Regions from separate parts of the Homo sapiens genome. Here region 1 is linked to region 2. The links are contacts of gene promoters, found by promoter capture Hi-C in human tissues and cell types (Jung and others, 2019). All regions are on one chromosome and are shown on one strand. Each heading gives the region's core, a stretch centred on a gene start or on the middle of the fragment in contact. The rest is flanking DNA. Distances are from core to core; before and after follow the strand shown. Region 1 overlaps SLC5A11 (solute carrier family 5 member 11). Region 2 holds the start of AQP8 (aquaporin 8).

Region 1 (7,389 bases), core at 863-3,362, 310 kb before region 2:
GCCTCTCGCCGCCGGCACCAGGGTGTTTGTGCTGCTGCTGGTCCTGGTCTCCATCCTCTGGATCCCTGTGGTCCAGGCCAGCCAGGGCGGCCAGCTCTTCATCTATATCCAGTCCATCAGCTCCTACCTGCAGCCGCCTGTGGCGGTGGTCTTCATCATGGGATGTTTCTGGAAGAGGACCAATGAAAAGGTAGCTCTGGATGGCTCCCACTATGCCAGAACCAAGTGCTGCCCCTTGAGGACTGGGATAGGATGGGAGGGGAGGGTGTTGGAGGGAGACACAGGCTGGAATTGGGTGTTGAGAGGGAGGGTGAGTTCCATTGGTGGAAGATACAGGGAGGGTGTTTATCTGACCTTTGCAAAAAAGCAATGAGAGGGCTGCTGCGATGGCTCACACCTGTAATCCCAGCACTTTGGGAGGCCGAGGTGGGTGGATCACTTGAGGTCAGGAGTTTGAGACCAGCCTGGCCAACATGGTGAAAGCCCATCATTACTCAAAATACAAAAATTAGCCGGGTGTGGTGGTGGGCGCCTGTAATCCCAGCTACTCAGATGCTGAGGCAGGAGAATCACTGGAACCTGGGGGGCAGAGGTTGCAGTGAGCTGAGACCACGCCACTGCACTCCAGCCTGGGCGACAGAGTGAGACTGTCTCAAAAAAAAAAAAAAAAAAAAAGCAATGAGAGGTTCTCATGAAAAGTATCTTGATGCATTTTTTGTTATTGAACAGGGAAGCTAAATTAAGAGGGAGTTAGTAAACTATTAGTAATCAATTCATTATAAAAAGATAAATGGTTAAGTATTGCAGAACCTTTTCAAATTGCTGACCCGTGCTTGCAGTGACCACCACAAGAAAGACAAGTCCTGGAGATGGCTTCTTGAGGTTCCTGGAGGCCAGAGCCCTTGGCGTCTCTAAGATGATCTTGCTCTGATTTTGCAGGGTGCCTTCTGGGGCCTGATCTCGGGCCTGCTCCTGGGCTTGGTTAGGCTGGTCCTGGACTTTATTTACGTGCAGCCTCGATGCGACCAGCCAGATGAGCGCCCGGTCCTGGTGAAGAGCATTCACTACCTCTACTTCTCCATGATCCTGTCCACGGTCACCCTCATCACTGTCTCCACCGTGAGCTGGTTCACAGAGCCACCCTCCAAGGAGATGGTACATTTGGGCTGATGGCTAGATCCGTTGAGACTTTTTGTTGGAAGTGACAGAAAACTGACTCAAACTGACTTAAGCGAAGGAGACTGATTGTCCAAAAAGCTGAAAAGTCCAGGGTTGAGGTTCAGGGGCAGGATGATTTGGGACTCTGAAAAGGTCATCAGAATCCATCTGCACTTCTGCTTCAATTCTTAGGTCCCATATGGAGCCCAGTATCTTCTAGAGATACATCCTCTTTTACTGTCATTAAGTAAACATAAGGCTGGGGTGCGGTGGCTCATGCCTGTAATCCCAGCACTTCGGGAAGCTGAGATGGGAGGATCACTTGAGGCCAGGAGTTTGAGACCAGCCTGGGCAATATAGTGAGATCCCGTCTCTTAAAAAAATGAAAAAATTAGCAGGGCGTGATGGCTCATGCCTGTAATCTCAGTTACTAGAGAGGCTGAGGTGGGAGGATTGCCAGAGCCCAGGAGTTTTGATGGTGCAGTGAGCTATGACCATGCCACTGCACTTCCAGCCTTGGTGACAGAGCAAGACCCTGTCTCACAAAAAAAAAAAAAAAAAAAAAAAGGAAAAGAAAAAATTAGCAGGGCGTGATGGCTCATGCCTGTAATCCCAGCTGCTAGGGAGGCTGAGGCAGGAGGATTGCTTCAGCCCAGGAGTTTAAGGCTGCAGTGAGCTATGACCATGCCACTGCACTCCCACCTGGGTGACAGAACAAGAGCCTGTCTTTAAAAAAAAAAAAAAAAAAAAAAAGTAAAAATAAGCATTAATATTTCTGTCCCAGAATTTCTAGAGAATTTCTAGATTTCCATTGATGGAGTCAGCTCAGGACACATGCTCATCCGTGAACCAATTCAATCCCTGTGGCCAGAGAAACGGATGAGCTGAAATGACCAGTTCTGGGGTCCTGCAATACTCTAGGGTGAGGGTTAAGCTCTGGGGATTAGAATGAGGGATAATCACATCCCAGCAACAGGAGGATGGGGTTTATCGGAGAAAGACGTGGGAATGAGCAGGGGAATTGTGCGCTGATGTTGAAGAGTGCAGGAACATGATGCTTGTTGGAGGATGGGGTGGGAGGGTGGGGCTGGGAGCAGATTCAGACACAAAGGCTGAGTGTGGGGTTGGGTGGGGAGTGTGAGAAAAGGATGGACAACCCCGGCCCCACCTCCACCACAAATCTCATCATTCATCCCTGCTCCTTAGGTCAGCCACCTGACCTGGTTTACTCGTCACGACCCCGTGGTCCAGAAGGAACAAGCACCACCAGCAGCTCCCTTGTCTCTTACCCTCTCTCAGAACGGGATGCCAGAGGCCAGCAGCAGCAGCAGCGTCCAGTTCGAGATGGTTCAAGAAAACACGTCTAAAACCCACAGCTGTGAGTAGCTTCTCTCCTCAGTTACAGCAAGAAGGAGTACGTGTTAAAGGGATTGATTTTTTTTTTTTTCCTATCAAATCACAAGCCAGGAAAGTGGGCAGACTTGGAGTTTTAGCATCCTCTGGCTCCAGTGTCTGATCTGTCCCCACGCTCCGGCCATGGGAAAGGAGTTTTTAGTAACTTTCAACAAGCTTCCTACGGGCACTAACAGCAAACAAACACTTGTTGAGTGCCTACGGAGACACGGTTGGTTCATTTCATCCTTATTCTCTGCACATGGGTAGGCAGGAACACAACTTGCCTTCTCTCAGTTAGTGCTTCTAAACTGGCGGCTTGCAGACATATTTTGGCTTAGCCCACCTACAGTTTCAACAAAATGTGAGTTAACATTTAAAAATTGAGAGATTTTGGCCGGTCAGCATGGCTCAGGCCTGTAATCCCAGCACTTTGGGAGGCCGAGGTGGGTGCATCACTTGAAATCAGGAGTTCAAGACCAGCCTGGCCAACATGGTGAAATCCTGTCTCTACTAAAAATATAAAAATTAGCCGGGCATGGTAGCGCATGCCTATAGTCCCAGCTACTTGGGAGGCTGAGGCAGGAGAATCGCTTGAACCTGGGAGGTGGAGGTTGCAGTGAGCCGAGATCACGCCACTGCACTCCAGCCTGGACGACAGAGTGAGACTCTCTCAAAAAAAAAAAAAAAAAAAAGGGAGATTTCAGTCGGGCATAGTGGATGGTGGTTCACGCCTGTAATCCCAGCACTTGAACACATCTGGTGAGTGTCCCTGTCTCACCTCTCTGGGAGATACAGACCACCTCTACGGTCTTCCTTTGCTGGGTTCTTTCTAGGTGACATGACCCCAAAGCAGTCCAAAGTGGTGAAGGCCATCCTGTGGCTCTGTGGAATACAGGAGAAGGGCAAGGAAGAGCTCCCGGCCAGAGCAGAAGCCATCATAGTTTCCCTGGAAGAAAACCCCTTGGTGAAGACCCTCCTGGACGTCAACCTCATTTTCTGCGTGAGCTGCGCCATCTTTATCTGGGGCTATTTTGCTTAGTGTGGGGTGAACCCAGGGGTCCAAACTCTGTTTCTCTTCAGTGCTCCATTTTTTTAATGAAAGAAAAAATAATAAAGCTTTTGTTTACCACAAGGCTTCCAAGTGTTTATAGACCATTTTCAACATGACACTTAGCTCTTTTCTTTTTTCTTTTTTTCTTTTTTTTTTTTTTGAGACAGTGTCTCGCTCTGCCACCCAGGATGGAGTGCAGTGGCATGGTCATAGCTCACTGCAACGTCAAACTCCTGGGCTCAAGTGATCCTCCCTCCTCAGCCTCACAAGTTTCTAGGACTACAGGCACACACTACCATGCCTGGCTAATTTTTCCTTTTTTCAAAGAGATGTGGTCTATGTTGCCCAGGCTGGTCCTGAACTCCTGGCCTCAAGTGATCCCCCCACCTCAGCCTCCCAAAGTACTAGGATTACAGGCATGAGCCACGATGCCCAGCCTCTTTTCTTCTTGAAAATAATGAAGGTTAGAAGATGGAAAGAGGAGAGACATGTAAAAGCTTCCTTTTGCAAAAGACTAGTTATTCATTCTTCTTATCCATTGTGCAACATCAATACCCAAATTCAAAGGGATAAAGAAGCAAAGGGACTTACAAGACCTCCCAGGCTGACAGCAGCCACATCTCCGGGGTTGGATATTTAGCATCTGAACTTGCCCAGCTCACCTTCACAGTGCAAAGAATGGGACCTGCATTCTATCTCTTGCCTTCCACTGTGGCTGGCTTTGGGTGAAGGTCCCCGAGTTTTCTCACTGTGATACTTTCTCCTAGATATTTCTTGGAAATAGACCCCAGTTGGTACTCTGAAATCTTGTGCTGTAAGAAAATCAGGGAATTGTGTGCACTTCTCAAGTTCTGGCTTAGACTCTTGTTTTTGAGACAGGGTCTCTCTCACTCTGTCACCCAGGCTGGAATGTAGTGGCACCCTGAGATCTCACTGCAGTCTTGACTTCCTGGGCTCATGTGATCCTCCCACCTCAGCCTCCTGAGTAGCTGGGACTACAGACATGCACCACCATGCCTGGCTAATTTTTAAAATTTCTTCGCAGAGACATGGGGGGCGGGTCTCTCCTATGTTGCCTGAGCTGGTTTTAACCTCCTGGGCTCAAGCAATCCTCCTGCCTTGGCCTCCCAAAGTGCTGGGATTACAGGTGTGAGCCACGCACCCAGCCTTAGACTGTGTTTCTTTGCTTAATTCCCCATGATGATGCTTCCCTAAAAAGAAGCAGCCAGGTGGATGTGCATCTCAATGAACCTCCCCACCAAAAGCCAGTAAGGCTTTGACCTGCAGAGCAGCGGCCTCCTGTTCTGGGTAGAGCCAGCCTCCTCAGCTTCCCAGCTTTGGGCCCACTGGAGTCTGACGGAATGACCCATCAGGGCTGCGTTTGCCACGTGCAGAGCTAAGAGCAGGACAGGGCCAACGGAGTGAGCCCTGAGACCATCTCTGGAGTAGCTCAGGGCCATGAACCATCCAGGCCTGGGATAAGGTGGGGTGGACTAGAACCCCTTCCTGGCCTGACAGAGCTGGAAAGCAGAGGAGTCTCTCGAGGGACCCCAATTTTCAGACCAGAGGAAAGTAAACAGGACCCCCTGGGGCTGAGGAGCTGCCCACCCACTTAATCCTCCAGTGATGATGTCTTTCTGGTTCCTACTTGATGCCAACAGCTAGGACTGGCCTGGTGCACAGGCAAATAATGTATTGGTCCAGCCTCAGCTCTGCTCATAGGCCCAGCTCTCTACAGGAATCCAAATAGCAGTAGTAGGTTGGACAAAGGGCACCCCCAGCCCTCCTGGGAAGGGGTATGGGCGGGGAACTGGCTGCTAACATGGCTCCAGGCAGGAGCGTGGAATGGTTCTGGAGCAAGTGGGCTCAAGGAGAAGTCTTCACCGGGGAGGTTGAGCTTCTGCCTCCAAGGCCCAAAGAAGGGGAGTGGGCGGCATGGGAGGCTTCCACTACAGTCCTGAGCTCCCCGTCCAAGCCTGCCCCTCACACCAAGACCCCTGTTGCCTCTGGCTGGGGTCAACAGTGTGTTTCAGCAGGGACGCACTGAGCTGTCACTATGATAGCTCAGGCCACCCCCATCTCTGCCCGGACTCCTGACTGCCTTCTCACATCCAGTCTTCCCATTCTCCAGCCACTGGCAGGGTGAGCAACTCGGATCAAGCCAATCCTCTGCTTGGAATCCTTCAGAGACCTTCCCACTCAGGATGAACTCTGCAATCCTTTGCCTTCCTTTTTTTTTTTTTTTTTTTTTTTTTTTTTGAGACAGGCTCTCACTCTGTTGCCCAGGCTGGAACACAGGGTGCGATCATGGCTCAATGCATTCTCAAACTCCCAGGCTCAGGTGATCCTCCCACCTCAGCCTCCTGGGTAGCTGGGACTACAAGTACGCACCACCATGCCTGGCAATTTTTGTTGGTTGTTGTTGTATTTTGTGGAGAAGGCATTTTGCCATATTGCCCAGGCTGGTCTCCAACTCCTGGGCTCATGTGATCCACCTGCCTTGGCCTCCCAAAGTGCTGGGATTACAGGTGTGAGCCCCCATATCTGGCCTTTTTTTTTTTTTTTTTTTTTTTTTTTTTTTTTACAGACAGGGTCTTGCACTTTGTCACCCAGGCTGGAGTGCATTGGCATGATCATGACTTACTGGACCCTCGAACTCCTGCCTCAACCTCTTGAGTAGCTGGAACTACAGACATTTGGCCACCATACCTGGCTAATTTTAATTTTTTTATGTAGATGGGGTCTTACTATGTTGCCCTGGCTGGTCTCAAACTGCCGGCTTCAAGCAATTCACCCACCTCAACCTCTCAAAGTGCTGAGATTACAGGTGTGAGCTGCTGTGCCCAGCCAGCTGAGAGATTTTAAATGTTCTCGCCACAAAAAATAAATGATAATGGAGGTGATGGATATATTAATTAGCTAGATTTAACCATTCTGCAATGTATACATATACAAAAACATGTCGTATACCATAACTTTTATCAATTTAAAAAACCAGTGCAGTGCAAATACAATTTACAGATGTGCACAGAAACTGAATTCAGGCCAGGTGCAGTGGCTCACATCTGTAATCCCAGCACTTCAGTGGGCTGAGGTGAGTGGATCACCTGAGGTCAGGAGTTCAAGACCAGCCTGGCCAACAGATCAAAACCTCATCTCTACTAAAAATAAAAAAATTAGCCTGGCATGGTGGTGGGTGCCTGTAGTCCCAGCTACTTGGGAGGCTGAGGCAGGAGAATGGCTTGAACCTGGGAGGCAGGGGTAGCAGTAAGCCGAGATCATGTCACTGCACTCCAGCCTGGGTGACAGAGCAAGATTCCATCTTAAACAAATAGAATGACAACCAAAAACCCCAAATTCAAATACAAGTAGAAAGAGTGAAAACAGAACCCTGAGGATTTTTTTAGGTTGGGGTTCTTCCTTGTATCAAATATCCCCCTCCCCACATGTCATTTGTGATGATGTTTCGTGTGTGAAGGATAGACCCTAAGGTGACCCTCAATCATCCCTACTTCCTGGGAAGTGGATCCTTCCCCAGCCCAGCCTCCAGATGAGATCCCAGCCCTGGCTGCTGCCTTGACTGCAGCAGATGAAGATCCTGGACAGAGGACCCAGAGAAGCTGTGCCTGGACTCCTGACCCACAGGAGCTGTGAGAAAATGAACATGTGTTGTTGTAAGCTGCTAAGTATGTGATCATCTGTCATGCTGCACTGGATAACTGACATGAGGGGCATGGTGTGTGAACGCATGTGTGGATGTAAAGGAGGGGTTGGCTGGAGAGGGT
Region 2 (6,821 bases), core at 4,311-6,810:
TGTCTGTATTTTTTTTTTTTTTTTTTTTTTTTTTTGAGACGGAGTCTCGCTCTGTCACCCAGGCTGGAGTGCAGTGGCGGGATCTCGGCTCACTGCAAGCTCCGCCTCCCGGGTTCATGCCATTCTCCTGCCTCAGCCTCCCAAGTAGCTGGGACTACAGGCGCCCGCCACTACGCCCAGCTAATTTTTTGTATTTTTAGTAGAGACGGGGTTTCACCGTTTTAGCCGGGATGGTCTCGATCTGCTGACCTCGTGATCCGCCCGCCTCGGCCTCCCAAAGTGCTGGGATTACAGGCGTGAGCCACCGCGCCCGGCCTAATGTCTGTATTTTTAATAGAGACGGGGTTTCACTATATGGCCAGGCTGGTCTCAAACTCCTGACCTCAGGTAATGAACCTGCCTCGGCCTCCCAAAATGGTGGGATTACAAGGGTGAGCCACTACATCTGGCCTATATATACGGTCCAAGATGGCTGCCACAGCAGCAGCGTCACATCTGGCACAACAGTGCAGCCATCAAGGCAAGAGAGAAGGGAAAGGTGAGATGCCAGGGTAAAATGTGACCTGTTTCTACACTCCATCTGGACCTGGTGGGGGATGGCAGACAGGTATAGATGCAGAGAAGTCTTGCCAACCAAACAGGGATAAAGATTAGAAGCCTTGGTCCTGTTAACCAGACCTGGATTTGGAAAACTAGGAAGTTTGCCAGCCAAAGAATTTTTTAGGAAGACAGTATCTCCTTAGCCCACTAGGTTTTTCAGTGGTTTTGAGAGACAGTATATTGTGTATGAGGACATCAGGACATACTCTAAAACTCTCATGTAGTGGAAATATGTTGTTTTGTCTGAATGGCATTCAGGTTTTCCCTGGAAGCCACTAGTTTTCTTTTTCTTTCCTTTTTTTTTTCTTTTTTTAATTAAGACGGACTCTTGCTCTGTTGCCAAGGCTGGAGTGCAGTGGTGCAATCTTGGCTCACTGCAATCTCCACCTCCCGTGTTCAAGCAATTCTCCTGCCTCAGCCTCCTGAGTAGTTGGGACTACAGGCGCGTGCCACCATGCCCGGCTAATTTCTTGTATTTTTAGGAGAGATGGGGTTTTACTGTGTTAGCCAGGATGGTCTCGATCTCCTGACCTTGTGATTCACCCGCCTTGGCCTCCCAAAGTGCTGGGATTACAGGCATGAGCCGCTGCACTGGCCTAGTTTTGGAGTTATGGAATCCAACCTTGCCTTGAGCAAGGGAAGGGTGTTTTTAGAGGACCAATAGGTAGTTTGCCCAGGCATCAGAGAGGACATAATATCTGATCTGAGATCTGAATGAGGAGTAGAAGTTGGCCAAGAGGGCAAACAAGGACTCCAAACAGAGGGACTGGCATGGACAAGGCCGGGTGAGGGTACATAGCTTATCTGATAAATTGTTTAGGGTTCATGTGGCAAGAGATGATTCAGGGGCTAGGAACTGAAGTCTCTGTGGCTAGCTAAGGGAGTCTGGGTTTGTCTTGGAACCATGGGACACACTGAATGATTTAATTCAGGGAAAAACTCAACTAGAACCATGGTCTCTGGGAAAGCAACAATTTCTAGTATGTGGCAGAAATTGCTCGATATTCATAAAATGCCTTTCTTTTTCCTCCTGGGCACAGGGCTAGACTACAATTCCCAGGCTCGATTGCAGTCAGGTGAAGCCACGTGACTGAGTTTGAGCCCATCAAATATAGGTGAGAGGGATATATGGTATTTCTAGGCCTAGCCCATAATAATTTCCTGCACAGCCCTCCACATTCTCTTTTTCCCATTTTGCTGGAGAAGATCTGAGGACCTAGATGGGGCAGCTCCAAGATGGAAGTGGCCTGGATCCCTGAGTCACCATTTGGAGACGAGCCTGTCATGGACTATTATGTGAGCAAAGAATCCATTTTTTGGGGGGTGGGGGGGTGGGATGGAGTGTCGCTCTGTGGCCCAGGCTGGAGTGCTGTGGTGTGATCTCGGCTCGCTGCAACCTCCGTCTTCCAGGTTCAAGCGATTCTCCTGCCTCAGCCTCCTGAGTAGCTGGGATTACAGGCGTGTGCCACCATGCCCAGCTAATTTTTGTATTTTTGGTAGAGATGGGGTTTCACCATGTTGGTCAGGCTGGTCTTGAACTCCTGACCTTGTGATCTGCCCGCGTTGGCCTCCCAAAGTGCTGGGATTACAGGTGCGAGCCAGTGCATCCAGCTTAGTTTTTCTTTGTTCAAGGGACTAAGCAAGAACAGATGAAGGCATGGGTGAAAACAAGAGAGAATTATTCTGGAAGCAGTACTGGCAGGATTTGAGCAAATAATGAGGGGGATGGGGAAGCCTTGGGTCAGACTATCTTATGTTGCTATTTATAGGATGTGGAAGGAAGGGTCTAAGAAACATCTTGTATGATGTGCTGTGGGATATGGAGGAGGTAGAGAACAGGGCTAAAAATAACCTTCCTAGAGGTGCAGATATTTGGCAGAGACCCTGTATTCCTGGGCCTCTCGCTGACATGGGCTGTCAACAAACTGTCACGCTCTTCTCTAGATATGTCCACTTCTGTCCTGAAGCAGATATTTTTATGTACACAGCCATGGGTGAGTTCTTAACTTCTTTGTGCCTCGTTTTTATCATCTGAAGATGGTGATAATAAGTGATAGGACTTATCTCAAAGGGGTTTACGAATATATACCGAGTGTTTAGCATGGTGTTGGAGATGTAGTGAGTAGTTGAGAAATGTCAGAAATGAGCATTAAAATTCCGTTAGCTCTAGCTTGACTTCTCTATCAGTGCATACAAACACTCAAAGATAAAGCTATGAGACAGAGCAGGATTTTGCCTGTCTTGTTCACTGCTACATCTCCAGCCAGCTTAGAACAGTGACTGGCTTGCAGCAGCTATTTAAATGTTTGGTGAGTGAATGAATGAATAAGGAACTCATCTCATTTTCTTTCCTTCCTCCTTCCTTTCTCCCTTCCTTCCTCCCTCCCTTCCTTTCTTTCTTCCCTTCTTTCCAACCATCCATCCATCCATCCATCCATTCATCCATCCACCCACCCATCTATCCATCCATCCATCCATCCATCCATCCATCCACCCACCCACCCACCCAACCATCTATCTATCCATCCATCCATCCACCCATCCATCCATGCATCCACCCATCCATCCACTTATCCATCCATCCATCCATCCATCCATCCATCCATCCATCCATCTCTCTTAGAAAGGCAGTAGAGTGTAGTGGGTTAGCTCACAAGTATTTTTTTTCAATTGTGGCAAGATACACATAAAATAAAATATGCCATTTTAACCTTTTTTTTTTTGAGATGGAGTCTCATCCTCTCACCCAGGCTGGAGTGTAGTGGTGTGATCTCAGCTCACTACAACCTCTGCCCCCCAGGTTCAAGCGATTCTCCTGCCTCAGCTTCCCAAGTAGCTGGGATTACAGGCGTGCACCACCACACCCAGCCAATTTTTGTATTTTTAGTAGAGACAGGGTTTCACCATGTGGCCAGACTGGTGTCAAACTCCTAAAATCAAGTGATCCTCCTGCCTTGGTCTCCCAAAGTGCTGAGATTACAGGTGTGAGCCAAGCACACCCAGCATTTGGAACCATTTTTAAGTGTACATTTCAGTGACATTAAGTACTTCACATTGTTGTGCCACTGTATCATCCATCCCAAAACTTTCCTCCCAAACAGGAAATCTGTACCCGCTAAACACAAACTCTTCATTCTCCCTTCCCCTCGGGCCGTGGAAACCACCATTCTACTTCTGTCTCTATGAATTTGACTAGTCTAGGTACTTCATACAAGTGGAATCAGATACAGTATTTATCCTTTTGTGACAGCCCACAAGTTCTGTGATCATATAAGCTGTGTAATCTTGGGAAACTCAATCTTCCTGACACTCCACTTCCTCGTCTGTGAAATGGTTGTAATAATAGTACCTGCTTCACAGGGTGGCAGTGAGGTTTAAATGAGATAATAGAAGGCACTTAGCCCCAGTGCCTGGCACATAGAAAGTGCTCACTATTAGCTATTAGTTACAGCTAAGCATGTATTGTAAATTAGTGGACACTGGTATTGTGTGTCTAGCACTGTCCTGAGCACTTTACCCGTATTATCTCATTTAAACTTCCCAACGACCCTATGACATGGTGAAACCACTAACATCCACACCTAACAGATGAGAAAACAAAGGCCCAGAGAGGCCAAGTCATGTGCCCAAGGGTTACATAGCTAGTTTACAGCAGAGCTGGGATTGAACGCCAGGCAGCCTATTTCCAAAGTTCATGGGTCTTGCCGCTGCATTGCATTACCTCTTGCCAGTCTCTGCTGCCTCTGTCTGTGAAGGATCGTCATCTATACACTCAGTCCTGGCTCAGGCTGTCACGGTGACTGCAGGTGTTTGAAGCTGTGGGACTCATTGGAAAAATAATTGAAAATGGGATTGCTGTTTCTTTCTTTTCTTTTTTCTTTCTTTCTTTCTTTTTTTTTTTTTTTTTTTTAGACAGGGTCTCACTCTGAGGCTGAAGTGCAGTGGCGCGATCTTGGCTCACTGCAACCTCTGGGTCCTGGGTTCAAGTGATTCTCATGCCTCATCCTCCTGAGTAGCTGGGATTACAGGCAAACACCAACACGCCCTCTCTTTCTTTCTCCTTCCTTCCTTCTTTTCTTTCTTTTTCTTTTTTCTTTCTTTCTTTCTTTCTTTCTTTCTTTCTTTCTTTCTTTCTTTCTTTCCTTCCTTCTTTTCTTTCTTTCTTTTTCTTTCTTTTTCTTTCTTTCTTTCTTTCTTTCTTTCTTTCTTTCTTTCTTTCTTTCTTTCTTTTTCTTTCTTTCTTTCTTTCTTTCTTTCTTTCTTTCTTTCTTTCTTTCTTTCTTTCTTTTCTTTCCTTTCTTTCTTTCTCTGTCTTTCTTTCTTCTTTCTCTTTCCTTTTTTTTTTTTTTCAGAGCCTTGCTCTGTTGCCCAGGCTGGAGTGCAGTTGCACAATCTTGGCTCTGCGCAATCTTCGTCTCCCAGGTTCAAATGATTTTCCTGCCTTAGCCCCCCAAGTAGCTGGGATTACAGGCGTGCACCACCACGCCCGGCTGAGTTTTGTATTTTTAGTAGAGACGGGGTTTCACCGTGTTAGCCAGGATGGTCTCAATCTCCTGACCTCGTGATCCACCTGCCTCGGCCTCCCAAAGTGCTGGGATTACAGGCGTGAGCCACTGCACCTGGCTGTTTGCTGTTTCTTAACATGTGAGGTTCCAACCCAGTGGGGCCCACTAACATGTGCTGTTCTGCTTTGGACCGTGGGGAGCTGGGGTGCTGGACCCATCTCCCACCTTCTACAGCCTGGAGTGTGCTCCCAGATGACACAGCCAAGCTGGCGTGTTTTTCCCTCACTGGCGGAAAGTTCAGCAATCCCTGACTCCCTCACCCTGCCCTGTTGAGATTTAAAAAAATTTCCTCTTCTGGGCCTCAGAGCCGCCTCCTACCTGAGGTTTATTGCTTTCTCTGCACCAGCATTGAGCCTCTGCAGCCCTTTAAAAGGGGCAGAGCCCATAGTGTGATCAGCAGGTCCTGTCCCTAGGAGATAAGAGTATCTTGCACAGCAGGTGCAGGTTTCCCAGCAGCTCAGGCAAGAGTCCGATGTTTGTGCCATCTGATCCTGATGTCTGGAGAGGTGAGCCCTCTGTCGGCATCTTCCTCTCCAGGCTGGCAGAGCAAGGGGGGCTGTGAATTAATTCAAGGTTGGGGGTCGGGGCCTTCTATATCTGGACTTGCCTCCCACCCGTGTCCTCTGTCCCTTTTTCCCTACGGCAGATAGCCATGTGTGAGCCTGAATTTGGCAATGACAAGGCCAGGGAGCCGAGCGTGGGTGGCAGGTGGCGAGTGTCCTGGTACGAACGGTTTGTGCAGCCATGTCTGGTCGAACTGCTGGGCTCTGCTCTCTTCATCTTCATCGGGTGCCTGTCGGTCATTGAGAATGGGACGGACACTGGGCTGCTGCAGCCGGCCCTGGCCCACGGGCTGGCTTTGGGGCTCGTGATTGCCACGCTGGGGAATATCAGGTGAGACCAGCTCTGAGGATTCAGCCTGATGCTGACTTGGGGCACTGGGTGTGGAAAGCAAAGGCGTTGTCAAGGACCCCTGGGCGCATACGTATTCGGGATTTCAAGGAGCGCTCTGGATAACTATGGGGTTGGGAGTCAGACTGGGGTCAACTCCAGACCCCGCAGCCTGTGAGCTTGTGACTTTGAGCAAGTCATTCTCTTTTTGAGTAGCTGGATCACAGGCATGCGCCGCAGCACCCAACTAATTTTTAAATTTTGTTGTAGAGATGGGGTCTCACTATGTTGCCCAGGCTAGTCTTGAACTCCTGGTCTCAAGCGATCCTCCTGCCTTGGCTTCCCAAAGTTTTGGGATTACAGGCATGAGACACCATGCCTGGCTGGCAAGTTACTCTCTAAACCCAAAGTTCCCCGCCTATAAAATGGGAATAGTAGCTTTTAAATGTTTTTTTTTTCAAGCCAACATATCTATATTGCTAACCATGTACCAGGCACTAGTCTAATTACTTTATAGATATTAGTTATTTAATCCTCACAAAAGCCTTGTGGGGTAGGTCCTGTTATTAGCCCCATTGTACAGCTGCAAAAGTGAAAGGCCATGTAATCTGTCCAAGCTTAGAGGGCCAGAAAGTGGCAGAGGCGGGAGTCAAGAACAAGCTGTCTGGCTCCAGCGCTCAAATCCAAGTGCCTCATGCGGAAGTCATGAGAATTAAATGAAGTAGAGCGCCTGGCACACACCAAACATACAACAGGCATTGGTTG

What was found. Contacts are between HindIII fragments. The study calls those that stand out against the background at their distance.
Region 1: a fragment that was not itself captured here is called in contact with the fragment with the promoter of AQP8 in region 2 in 1 of the 25 tissues and cell types used here (spleen).

Annotation. Positions count from the first base shown.
Region 1 is chr16:24,907,942-24,915,330 of GRCh38, forward strand. It overlaps SLC5A11 (solute carrier family 5 member 11), which reads left to right. Exons shown (of 17, transcript NM_001352248.3): 14 at 22-190; 15 at 940-1,155; 16 at 2,365-2,536; 17 at 3,387-3,685. The coding sequence ends at 3,592. Among named protein-coding and RNA genes, the nearest start is that of SLC5A11, 66 kb to the left of the region's middle. The HindIII fragment of the contact is 3,545 bases long and covers 341-3,885 here.
Region 2 is chr16:25,211,387-25,218,207 of GRCh38, forward strand. AQP8 (aquaporin 8) reads left to right here and starts at 5,561. Exons shown (of 6, transcript NM_001169.3): 1 at 5,561-5,671; 2 at 5,812-6,059. The coding sequence starts at 5,660. The HindIII fragment of the contact is 27,087 bases long and covers 1-6,821 here.